Linked DNA regions of Homo sapiens: region 1 is linked to region 2. The links are contacts of gene promoters, found by promoter capture Hi-C in human tissues and cell types (Jung and others, 2019). All regions are on one chromosome and are shown on one strand. Each heading gives the region's core, a stretch centred on a gene start or on the middle of the fragment in contact. The rest is flanking DNA. Distances are from core to core; before and after follow the strand shown. Region 1 overlaps MED26 (mediator complex subunit 26). Region 2 holds the start of NWD1 (NACHT and WD repeat domain containing 1).

What was found. The method cuts DNA at HindIII sites, captures the fragments that hold promoters and counts their contacts. A contact is called where the count stands out against the background at its distance.
Region 1: a contact is called between a fragment that was not itself captured here and the fragment with the promoter of NWD1 in region 2, in 1 of the 25 tissues and cell types used here (adrenal gland).

Annotation. Positions count from the first base shown.
Region 1 is chr19:16,576,894-16,582,802 of GRCh38, forward strand. It overlaps MED26 (mediator complex subunit 26), which reads right to left. Exons shown (of 3, transcript NM_004831.5): 2 at 1,442-1,516; 3 at 1-789. LOC105372295 (a long non-coding RNA gene) reads left to right here. Exons shown (of 3, transcript XR_936360.3): 2 at 1,273-1,380; 3 at 1,465-1,921. Among named protein-coding and RNA genes, the nearest start is that of SLC35E1, 7.4 kb to the left of the region's middle. RefSeq lists a silencer at 4,870-4,919 and enhancers at 5,097-5,668, 5,669-5,909. The HindIII fragment of the contact is 7,303 bases long and covers 248-5,909 here.
Region 2 is chr19:16,715,795-16,721,209 of GRCh38, forward strand. It overlaps NWD1 (NACHT and WD repeat domain containing 1), which reads left to right and starts at 4,053. Exons shown (of 19, transcript NM_001007525.5): 1 at 4,053-4,499. The HindIII fragment of the contact is 25,691 bases long and covers 1-5,415 here.

The sequences.
Region 1 (5,909 bases), core at 2,649-5,148, 140 kb before region 2:
CACCTGTGTGGCATCGAGTGCCTGGGGCCGCGGTGAGGGGCTGGGCACGGAGCCCTTGGGTGCATACAAGCTCTGCTGCCGGGCAAAGGAGCCCTCATGCCGTGAGTTCCGAGGACTGAAAGAGCAGCGAGGGGGTCCCTTGGGATGGGGAGGCCCCGGAGTCTCGTCCACCCTGTCCAGCTGCTGCAGCACCGAAGCCTTTGGCTGCAAGCAGGGTCCAGGGGGCTTGCCCAGGCCCGGGGAGCTGGTGTGCGGTCGCACGGCGTTGACGGGGATCTTGCCACTGTGCTTGTCATTCTCGTCACGCTCCAGGCGGCTGCCCTCTGGGCCTGCATGCCCACTGCCATCCAGGGAGCTGGCGAAGCTCTCTGGACTCCCACTGATCCCGTTGGTGGGGAGGGGGGATGAGTTGGGGACCAGGGGGTCGTGGCTAGCTTTGGAGACCTTGGGTGGCGGCCCTGGGTGGCCGAGGTCACGCTGGTCACCCCGGCGCTTGCGGCTGCCCAGCCTGTCCAGCCGCTGCCCGGGCAGCCTCTGGAGGTCATTGCGGCTCTTCAGGTCATGGATGCTCCTGGGTGGGCCAGCCGCCCCCACCTCCGGCCGGCAGTTGTGTGCGCCCCCGTTGGCAGAGCCGGTGGCCCCCGCCAGCCCCCGCAGCGCCGCCTCATGCTGGTGTGCCGGCTCGATGAGCTTCTGCCAGCTCCGCAGCAGCTTCTTGGCCCGCTTGGCGAGCTCCTCGTTCTTGGTTTTCTTGCGGACGTCGTTGATGAGCTTCCCAAGTCGTGTTTCCTACAACCAGAGGGAGATGATGACATACTTTCGGGACAGGAACTTCTCCATGAGCTGAGCCAGAAATGGTGGGAAGTGGCCCTGACAGTGAAATGACCCGGTTCCCACTGAGCCCTAAACTGCCAGCTTCCCTGACACAAAACTTCTGGGGATTTCCGGTCCTTTGTGACAATATAAATTCTCAAACCTAGTTCCCAGACCTTCAGGGTCCCAGGTGGCTTCTCAGCAGTGCTGTCACCCAGGCTCCTGGTGTCAGGGGGCTGTGGACCATCAAGGCCACTGTAAGGACACTGCCAGAGAGGCTTCCTGGGTGAGAGGGTGCTGTGGCCGAGGCGACAGCACAGAGGGTCCGCTTCAAGTGGAGGGTTGGGGATGGTGCCTCTCACTGGAGCCTCCTCCAAGCACACCTCTCCTGATGTCCCCACGTGCCCACGAAGTGTGCTGGGCATGTAGGATGGGAGTAACACCACTTGGTCTCTGCAGTGCCCGTGGGAGAGCAAGATCGCGAGGCACGAGCTGTGAGGGCACACCGCCTCTCTTGGTCCTCCGAAGCAAAGACACTGATGCTCCCAGAAGCTGCGGAAGGACCTGGTTGGTACCATCCCCTGCCCCCCGTTCTGCCCTCCCAAATGCTGGGGTCTGGGATACTCACCTCAAGTGCCTCTTTGGTAATAGGGTATTTCTCCAGGCTGGAGATGACTTCCAGCACCGCCACCATGTTCCGGATCTGTGGAAATAAAAAGCCATTTGTCAGGTCCCTGTCCTTCTCCACTGGGAGGCTGGAACACCCTGCCCCAGCCTGCTCCAGTCTCTCCCCAACCCCAGAGCAAGAGGAGCCAGCAGCACTGAAGCCCCCACTCCATGTCGTCTCCTACCTGCTCCCTGGGCCAACCTGGCACCCAGTGCTCATCCTCACCTGCCGTCTGACCTCCTCCAGTGTGTGGTGTGCGGGCTGCCCCAAGCCCTCCAGTGTACATGGTACATACCCACCCACCTGCTGAAACCCAGGATGCCTGTGGAACAAGAGCTGCTCCTGATACTTAAGATGACCTCTACTCTGCCATCTGATGGGAGTGGGAGAGGAGACACGGAAGAATTCATCGAATAAAATCCACAAAGCTTAAAAGATCAATACACAGGCCAGGCGCGGTGGCTGACACCTGTAATCCCAGCACTTTGGGAGGCTGACGAAGGCGGATCAGAAGGTCAGGAGTTTGAGACCAGCCTGGCCAACACAGTGAAACCCCATCTCTATTAAAAATACAAAAATTAGTTGGGTGTGCTGGCATGCGCCTGTAGTTCCAGCTACTTGGGAGGCTGAGGCACGAGAACCACTTGAACCCGGGAGGCGGAGGGTGTAGTGAGCTGAGACCACACCACTGCACTCCAGCCTGGGTGACAGAGCAAGACTCCGTGTAAAAAATAATAATAATAATAATAATGATAAACCAGTCAATCTGAATCCAAAGACACCATAAAGAGAGCAGAAAGTCACAAAGTGGGAGAAGGCATAGGCCACAGGCCCCCAAGGAGCTGTATCTGGAACACAGAATGCCTGTACAGCAGTACAGCTGACCAGGAGCCCGGCGTAGACTGGCCACAAGACAGGAACAGGCACACGGCAATGAAATGTCAGTGCTGATGCTCAGCCTCTCAGCTTTATCGATAATCAGGAAAACTCAAACTGAACCCACAAATGGATACATGATACACGTGCCCCACTGACAACACTAGGTACTTCGGGGGATACAGCTGACTTTGGGGACTGCTGGGCTTTGTCTGGCAGAGTGAAGCATGAACACATCCCATGACCAAGTAATCCCTCCCTTTTAGGATCTTGCTAGGAGCCACACCTTGTTCTAAGCACTTCCCACACATTACTGACTCCCTTAATTGTTACAACAAGAATTCCTACCACTCAACCACCACCTCCAGCAACTACAGGTTTCTGGTGGGCTGGCTAGCGGGTGGGAGCCCAGGGGCCCTGAGGAAACCACAGTGAGTAGATTACTCAACTCCCCCCCACCCCAACATGATAAAGGAGTTAAGCGGGCACATGATACAAATTAAAACAGCATAAAAGGGCACACAAGGAAATGGGCATCTCTGACCCAGCCACTGTAGCATTTCCTTGCATTTTTTTCCAAAAATATCCCTTGTGTATATAGGCGTATACATCCACACTTATCACATATTTCAAAACCAAACTGACAGTGGTTCTTGCCTTTTCTGACTTAATGTCAGCAATGTCCAGCCTCAAACAGAGCCCCTCATTTGGCTCACCATCCCTTCCAGAGTGGGGAAGGCCCGACTTGAATGCTGTGGGACACTTAGGCACTTTCCGTCCGCCATTACAAAATAAGGCTGCAACCGACGGCAGTGACAGACCTGACTCTGAGCTAGTGCACAGACAGCCATGGAGGAGCTGGGGCTCCACATCCATGCAGGGTGGTCACCTCACCCCCAGGGAGGCTGCTCTATTCCATTCCCACCAGGCCACATCCTTGCCAAGACTGCGTGGCAAGAGTTTCCGTAACACATGATTGTAAACTTAGCATCTTACACAGCACACATTTATCATCTTAGGCTCTAGGGCTCAGAAATCAGGTCTGAGTCTCACTGGGCTGGGATCCTCTCTAGAGGATCCATTTCCTGCTCCTTCAGGTGTTAGCAGAGTTCAGCTCTTATTTTGTTTTTTTTTTTGAGATGAAGTTTCACTCTTGTCGCCCAGGCTGGAGTGCAATGGCACGATCTCGGCTCACTGCAACCTCCGTCTCCTGGGTTCAAGCAATTCTCCTGCCTCAGCCTCCCGAGTAGCTGAGATTATAGGCACCCGCCACCACGCCCAGCTAATTTTTGTATTTTTTTTTAGTAGGGACAGGGTTTCACCATGTTGAAGGCTGGTCTTGAACTCCTGACCTCAGGTGATCTGCCCTCCTCGGCCTCCCAAAGTGCTGGGATTACAAGCGTGAGCCACTGCACCCGGCCCAGAGTTCAGCTCTTTACACTACAGGAATGAGGCCCATTTTCTTGCTGGTTGTCATCCGAAGCCATTCCCAGCTTCTGGAGGGCACTGCATCCAGCTCACACCCCCTCCCCTTATGCTCAAAGCCAGCTACAGGCTGAGTCCTCACCCGGCATCTCTCTGACCCAGCCAGGATAGGTGCCATCTCTAAGGACTCCCTGACTAGGCAGGGCCTGCCCAGATGATCTCGGATCACCTCCCCATCTCCAGGCTGTTCCCTTAGTCACATCTGTCATGTACGGTACCATGTGCCCAGGCTCCAGGACTAGAATGTGGACGTCCTTGAGGGCTGTTAATTCTGCTGGCCTCATGGATTCTGGCTTTTCTACTCTTCTGCCCCACTTCCAGTGGGAGGCAGCCACTGCCACTCCCTCCCTTCCCGTGTTGTCTCCTCTGGGTGTAAAGTTGCAGAGCCACGACAGCAGTCCCCGCAGAACTCCCACAAAGCTGCCCTGCCAATGGGCCCATTTGCTCTTTGGCAACAACGGCCTTGCCTTGCAATGTTCTCCATTCAGGGCTCCAAATGACCCTGAAAACCCTGCTTCAAGCTGTGTCATGGTGGGGGTGGACGGGTGATATGAGGGGAGATACAGTCCTGTCCGCACTCCTCGTGCAATGGGCAGGGATCAGTGCAGGGGAAGACTGTGCGATGAGGAGGCCAGTCCCAGACAGACAGCAAGGCCAACCACTCCCTGCCCCAGGCACTCCAGCACCGACTCAGTCCCTGGGCTTGCCACATGGCTTCACCTCCACCCTGCTGACCTCACCCTGGTATATTTGGAGCCCTGGTTCCCCACATACTCCTGAAGCAGCAGTCCTTGCAGAGCAGAACACTGCCCAGACCCAGCTAGCCTGGTGGCACAAAGTGTCCTTGTCCTTGGGCAGACACCATCCTGCTGCCAGACAAGAGGGAGGAGACAGAACACCTGGGCAACCCCAGGGTCTGGTACTGAGCTGGTGCCCCAGAAATCACCGCTGAACTAACAGCCAGTCCCAAGAGTCTCCTGGAAACTGTGTGGGAGCTGGGGACACCAGGCGAAGGTGTGAGGGCCCTGTGACTGTGTATCCTTACCCTTGGCCCCTCCCCTGCCTTATGAGCCACGCTTAAGCGTGTGCAGAGAGGCCTTCAGCCTCTAGGAGCCCCAAGGGAAATGCTACAGCCTTGGCAGTCCCCTTTCTGTCCCCACCGTGTGAGCTGCTCACCTGAGGAGTAGAGGAGCCCGCCTGCTCTACCTGTAAGGTGCTAGAAACCCACAGTCCTACGCCGTAAACAGATGAACTCTGCCAACACCTGAAGGGGCAGAAAATGGATCCTCCAGAGAGGAGCGCAGCTCGCTGCTTCCTGGATCCCAGCCCGGTGAGACTGGAGCTGACTTCTGAGCCCTAGAGCCTGAGATGATAAATGTGTGTTGTGTAAGACACAGAGAGAGGGTGAGTGTCCAGTGCGGCCACTCCCTGGAGCCAGCAGAAGGCAGTCAGTGATGTCAGCAGAGCTAAGGATGGGGGCAAGGTGAGACTGCCCTGCCCTGCGACCTCTGGGGCATTGATGTCAAGCAGTCTGAACACTGTGTGGGGAGCACCACCTGGGCATCCAGACACAGGCCTCCCAGGCCCAGGAGGCAGACACTGAGCAATGCAGCGAGGAATCCCTGCAAAGGGCCTGGCCCCGACCCCAGGCACACTGAGCCAGAAGGCTCCACAGAGCCTCTTTATAGATGGCCACAGTCTGTCCCAAAGAACACTTAGCACCCAATTGGTGCTGGTCCCATAGGAGCAAAATAGGAGCTGGCTTCTGACCCTGGCCCTGGGGACCCTGCCTTAACAACCAACTGACCCCCCACCCAGGAGTGGCAGGTCTCCCACTCTCATGGAGGTGGCCCTCTGTGAGTGACAGAGACACCAGGACTCGTATGTGGCTGAGGGGAGGCTCCCGCTCTGACTCCAGGCCTGCTAAGTCCAGCATGAACCCTCAGGGCAGGGAGGCAGGCCACAGGGGGAGGGCAGCACCTAAGGTGGCCTCCCAGGGAGGTCAAAAAAGGATGTGGCAGAACGAGCTGTGTCCACCTGGGCTGGAGACCGACTTCCATGCTGGAAA
Region 2 (5,415 bases), core at 2,803-5,302:
CTGTGTTGGTTCTAAGGTTGACTACACAGAAATCCCCTAGCCCTGGGCTCGTGGTTACTCAATGCATAAGGATAATCACGATTTTTTTTTTTTTTTTTAAAACAGGGTCTTGCTCTGTCACCCAGGCTGGAGTGCAGTGGTGCAGTCATAGCTCACTGCAGCCTCAACCTCTTGGGCTCAAGTGATCCTCCCACCTCAGCCTGCCCAGTAGCTGGGACTACAGGCATGCACCACCAAGTCTGGTGAATTTTTATTTTTTGTAGATATGGGATCTCACTATATTGTCCAGGCTGGTCTCGAACTCCTGGGCTCAAGCAATCCACCTGCCTCAGCCTCCCAAAATGCTGGGATTACAGGCGTCAGCCAACATTCCCAGCCACTATTTTTTTTTTTTTTTGAGACAGTCTTGCTCTGTCCCCCAGGCTGGAGTGCAGTGGTGTGATCTCAGCTCACTGCAACTTCCGCCTCCTGGGTTCGAGCAATTCTCCTGCTTCTGCCTCCCAAGTAGCTGGGATTACAGGCATGCACCACCACGCCTGGCTAATTTTTTTTTTTTTTTGTATTTTTAGTAGAGATGGGATTTCACCATGTTGGCCAGGCTGGTCTCAAACTCTGGGCCTCAAGTGATCATCCCGCCTGGGCCTCCCAAAGTGCTGGGAGTGTGCCCGGCCCCAGCCACTATTTTTTAAGAGTACAAAATTGAAGCATATTCTGATAGGGAATTTAAAACACTCACTAAAGTAGGCAGAATAGTATAATGAACCGCAGCCCACCCTAACCACCATCACCCCCTACTCAACCTCGCCAACCCCGCCCCCATCCCATTTGCCTTCCTGTCAGGTATTATTTTGAAGCAAATCTCAGCTATCTTATCATTCCATAAATATTTTGTTATATGTCTCTAAAACATACACACTCTTTTTTTTTTTTTTTTGAGACAGGGTCTCACTCTGTTGCCCAAGCTGGAGCACAGTGGCGTGATCACGACTCATTGCAGCCTCAACTTCCCAGGTTCAAGTGATCCTTCCACCTCAGAGTAGCAGGGACCACTGGCACATGCACCATGTCTAGTTAATTTTTTAATTTTTTGTAAAAATGGAGTCTCAATATGTTGGCCAGTCTGGTCTTGAACTCCTGAGCTTAAGTGATCCTCCTGCCTTGGCCTCCCAAACTGCTGGGATAACAGGCATGAGGCACTGCACCTGGCCCAGACTCTTTAAAAGCCTAACCAGTCTGGGCATGGTGGCTCATGCCTGTAATCCCAGCACTTTGGGAGGCCGAGGCGGGTGCATCACCTGAGGTCAGGAGTTCCAGACCAGCCTGGACAACATGGTGAAACCCCGTCTCTACTAAAAATACAAAATATTAGCCAGGTGTGGTGGCAGGTGCCTCTAATCCCAGCTACTCGGGAGGGTGAGACAGGAGAATTGCTTGAACGTGGGAGGCGGAGGTTGCAGTAAGCCAAGATCATGCCATTGCACTCCAGCCTGGATGACAAGAGCAAAACTGTCTCGAAAACAAAAACAAAAATAAAAACAAAAACCTCACCGCAATACCATTGTCACACTGCAAAAACTTTGCCAATAATTTTTTAATATCTGTAGATTCCAGTTTAGCCAATAACTGTGGAGTTTTGGAATCATATCCGAATTTGGCTGTTAGCTCACTTCCTTGCCAAGGAAACTTGGGAAATTGTTTAACTTCTTTGAAGCCTATTTTCTTTCTTCTTCTTTTTTTTTTTAAACGCAGTCTCACTTTGTCACCCAGGCTGGAGTGCAATGGCGTGATCTCGGCTCACTGCAACCTCCGCCTTCCGGGTTCATGCGATTCTCCTGCCTCAGCCTCTCGAGTAGCTGGGATTACAGGTGCTCACCACCACGCCCAGCTAATTTTTGTATTTTTAGTAGAGACAGGGTTTCATCACGTTGGTCTGGAAGCCTGTTTTCATCATCAATGAACTGGGATAGTAAATTGAAGCCCCCAGATTGCTTGGAGTATTGGAGACAGTATGTTTCCTAAAATTTCAGCCCCTAAAACTTCTTTTCTTTTCTTTTTCTTTTTTTGTTTTAAAGAGACAGGGTTTTGCTCTGTTGCCCAGGCTAGAGTGCAGTGAGGCAATCATATCTCACTGCAGCCTTGACTTTCTGGGCTCAAGTAATCCTCCCACCTCAACCTCCCGAGTAGTTGGGACTACAGGCACACACCACCACGCCCAGCTAATTTTTTGTTATTGTTGTTGTTGTAGAGATGAGGGTCTCACTATGTTGCCCAGGCTGGTCTTGAACTCCTGGCCTTGAGTGATCCTCCCACCTTGGCTTCCCCAGTAGCTGGGACTACAGGAGCATGCCACTGTGCCTGGCAGCACCTGAAACTTCTTTTTTTTTTTTTTTTGTGAGATGGAGTGTAGTGTGGCTCTGTCGTCCAGGCTGGAGTGCAATGGCGTAATCTCTGCTCACTGCAACCTCTGCCTCCCAGGTTTAAGTGATCCTCCTGCCTCAGCCTCCCAAGTAGCTGGGATTACAGGCACCTGCCACCATGCCTGGCTAATTTTTGTTTTTAGTAGAGATGGGGTCTCACCATATTGGCCAAGCTGGTCTCAAATTCCTGACCTCAGGTGATTTGCCCACCTCGGCCTCCCAAAGTGCTGGGATTACAGGCATGAGCCACCGCGCCTGACCAAGTATCTGAAACTTCTATCCCTGAAAATATAGTAACACTATTATTATTACTTTTTCTTTGAGATGGAGGCTTGCTCTGTCGCCCAGGCTGGAGTGCAGTGGCGCAATCTCGGCTCACTGCAAGCTCCACCTCCCAGGTTCATGCCATTCTCCTGCCTCAGCTTCCTGAGTAGCTGGGACTACAGGTGCAAACCACCACGCCCAGCTAATTTTTTGTTTTTTGTTTTTTGTTTTTTATGTAGAGACAGGGTTTCACCATGTTAGCCAGGATGGTCTTGATCTCCTGACCTCGTGATCTGCCTGCCTTGGCCTCCCAAAGTGCTGGGATTACTGGCGTGAGCCACCATGCCTGGGTGACTTGTGAGTTTTTGAGACAAAGTCTCGCTCTGTCACCCAGGCTGGAGTGCAGTGGTGCGATCTCGGCTCACTGCAAGCTCCACCTCCCGGGTTCATGCCATTCTCCTGCCTCAGCTTCCTGAGTAGCTGGGACTACAGGTGCAAACCACCACGCCCAGCTAATTTTTTGTTTTGTTTTGTTTTGTTTTTTTTGTAGAGACGGGGTTTCACCGTGTTAGCCAGGATGGTCTTGATCTCCTGACCTCGTGATCTGCCTGCCTTGGCCTCCCAAAGTGCTGGGATTACTAGCGTGAGCCACCATGCCCGGGTGATTTGTGAGTTTTTGAGACAAAGTCTTGCTCTGTCGCCCAGGCTGCAGTGCAGTGGCAGGATCTCGGCTCATTGCAACCTCCAACTCCCAGGTTCAAACAATTCTTGTGCCTCAGCCTCCCAAGTAGCTGGGATTACAGGCATGCGTCACCACGCCCAGCTAATTTTTCTATTTTTAGTAGAGATAGGGGTCTCACCATATTGGCCAGTCTGGTCTTGAATGCCTGACCTCAGGTGATCCGCCTGCCTCGGCCTCCCAAAGTGCTGGGATTACAGGCATGAGCCACCGTGCCCGGTCTTGGAGTTTTAATGGTAATTAATCATGGCTAACATCTCACGGGCCCTTCCTGTGATGTAGGTGTAGTGTTAGTCTCACTCTCTATATAAATGCTTTTCATTGTCTCACCAACACAGGAAGTTAGTGAGAAAATTCAAGTGCAGAGTAGTGAAGCGTCACAGGCAAGGGACTTCACCTTTCTGCATCTTGTTTTCTTCATCTGTGAAACAGGATCATAATGTCTGTCTCTTGGGGTAATAATGTGGACTGCTAATGCCAAATGCCAACCAACTGCACCTCCTAGACTGTCAGCAAATGGCATCTTTTACGAGGAGCCGTATCAGCCTGGCACACAATAGTTAACCACTAAGTCTGGGCTGAATGCCCGGCTAAGCTGGTGCCCTAGTGCAAACAATCGCTTTCATTATCCCAGTTGCTGGGAGAATTGGGCAAGGAGAGACCCATAAAATACCTAAGACGAAAGTTACTAGGATAGCCAGGGGCTTGTCTTCCGGGTGGCGCCGAGGCCAGGAAACTGTCCTCTCTAACCTATTTCCCCAGAGGAGTCTAAATTGGTCGTTCAACTACCAGCAAAGGCTAAAGAGAGGCTGGAGCCCCCAGGACAGCCAGAACGCTGACACTGCAAAGGGCCTCTGTCCTTACTGGGGAAGCCCAGTCCTGCTCAGCTGTCTTCTTCAGCAACAAACAGAAGTCCAGAAAGAGAAACAGTTGTGGAGGAAGCTGTTGTGATGATAATTTACTGAGCACCTACTATGTGCCAGGCACGCCAGCCTTACCAGACAAGATCCTTGGGCTCATGGAATTCACTTTCTCGTGGGACAGACAAACAATAACATGTAGAAACATATCAGCTGTTGGTGAGTACCATGCAGAAAATTAAAATAAGGCGATGGCATTGGGAGTGACTTAAGGGGTCACTACGCAATGGGATGGTCAGAGACAGCCTCTCAGGAGGAGGTAGCATTGAAGCTAAAATGTGAACAACATGAACAGATGCAGCATAGAGCACTAAAGTACAGGACGTGCAAAGGCCCTGAGGTTGAAATAAGCTAAATGCATTAGACTAGGGGGTTCTCGAGTAAGGGGAATTCTGCCCCCTAGGGGACATTGCAATGTCTAGGGAGACTTTTTTTTTTTTGAGACGGAGTCTCGCTCTGTCACTAGGCTGGAGTGCAGTGGCGTGATCTCAGTTACTGCAAGCTCTGCCTCCCAGGTTCACACCATTCTCCTGCCTCAGCCTCCTGAGTAGCTGGGACTACAGGTGTCCGCCACATGCCCGGCTAATTTTTTGTATTTTTAGTAGAGACGGGGTTTCACCGTGTTAGCCAGGATGGTCTCGATCTCCTGACCTCATGATCTGCCCTCCTCGGCTTCCCAAAGTGCTGGGATTACAGGCGTGAGCCACCGCACCTGGCCGAGACTTTTTCTTTTTGAGATGGAGCCTTGCTCTGTTGCCCAGGCTGGAGCGCAGTGGCACGATCTCGGCTCACTGCAACCTCTGCTTCCCGGGTTCAAGCGATTCTCCTGCCTCAGGCTTCCGAGTAGCTGGGATTACAGGTACATGCCACCGCGCCAGCTAATTTTTGTATTTTTAGTAGAGATGGGGTTTCGCCATGTTGGCCAGGCTGGTCTCGAACTCCTGGCCTCAAGTAATCTGCCTGTTTTGGCCTCTCAAAGTGCTGGGATTAGAGGTGTGAGCCACTGCACCCAGCCTAGGGATACTTTTTAATTGTGACGACTTTGGTGGTGGTGGTGGGGGTGTGCTGTTGAAAT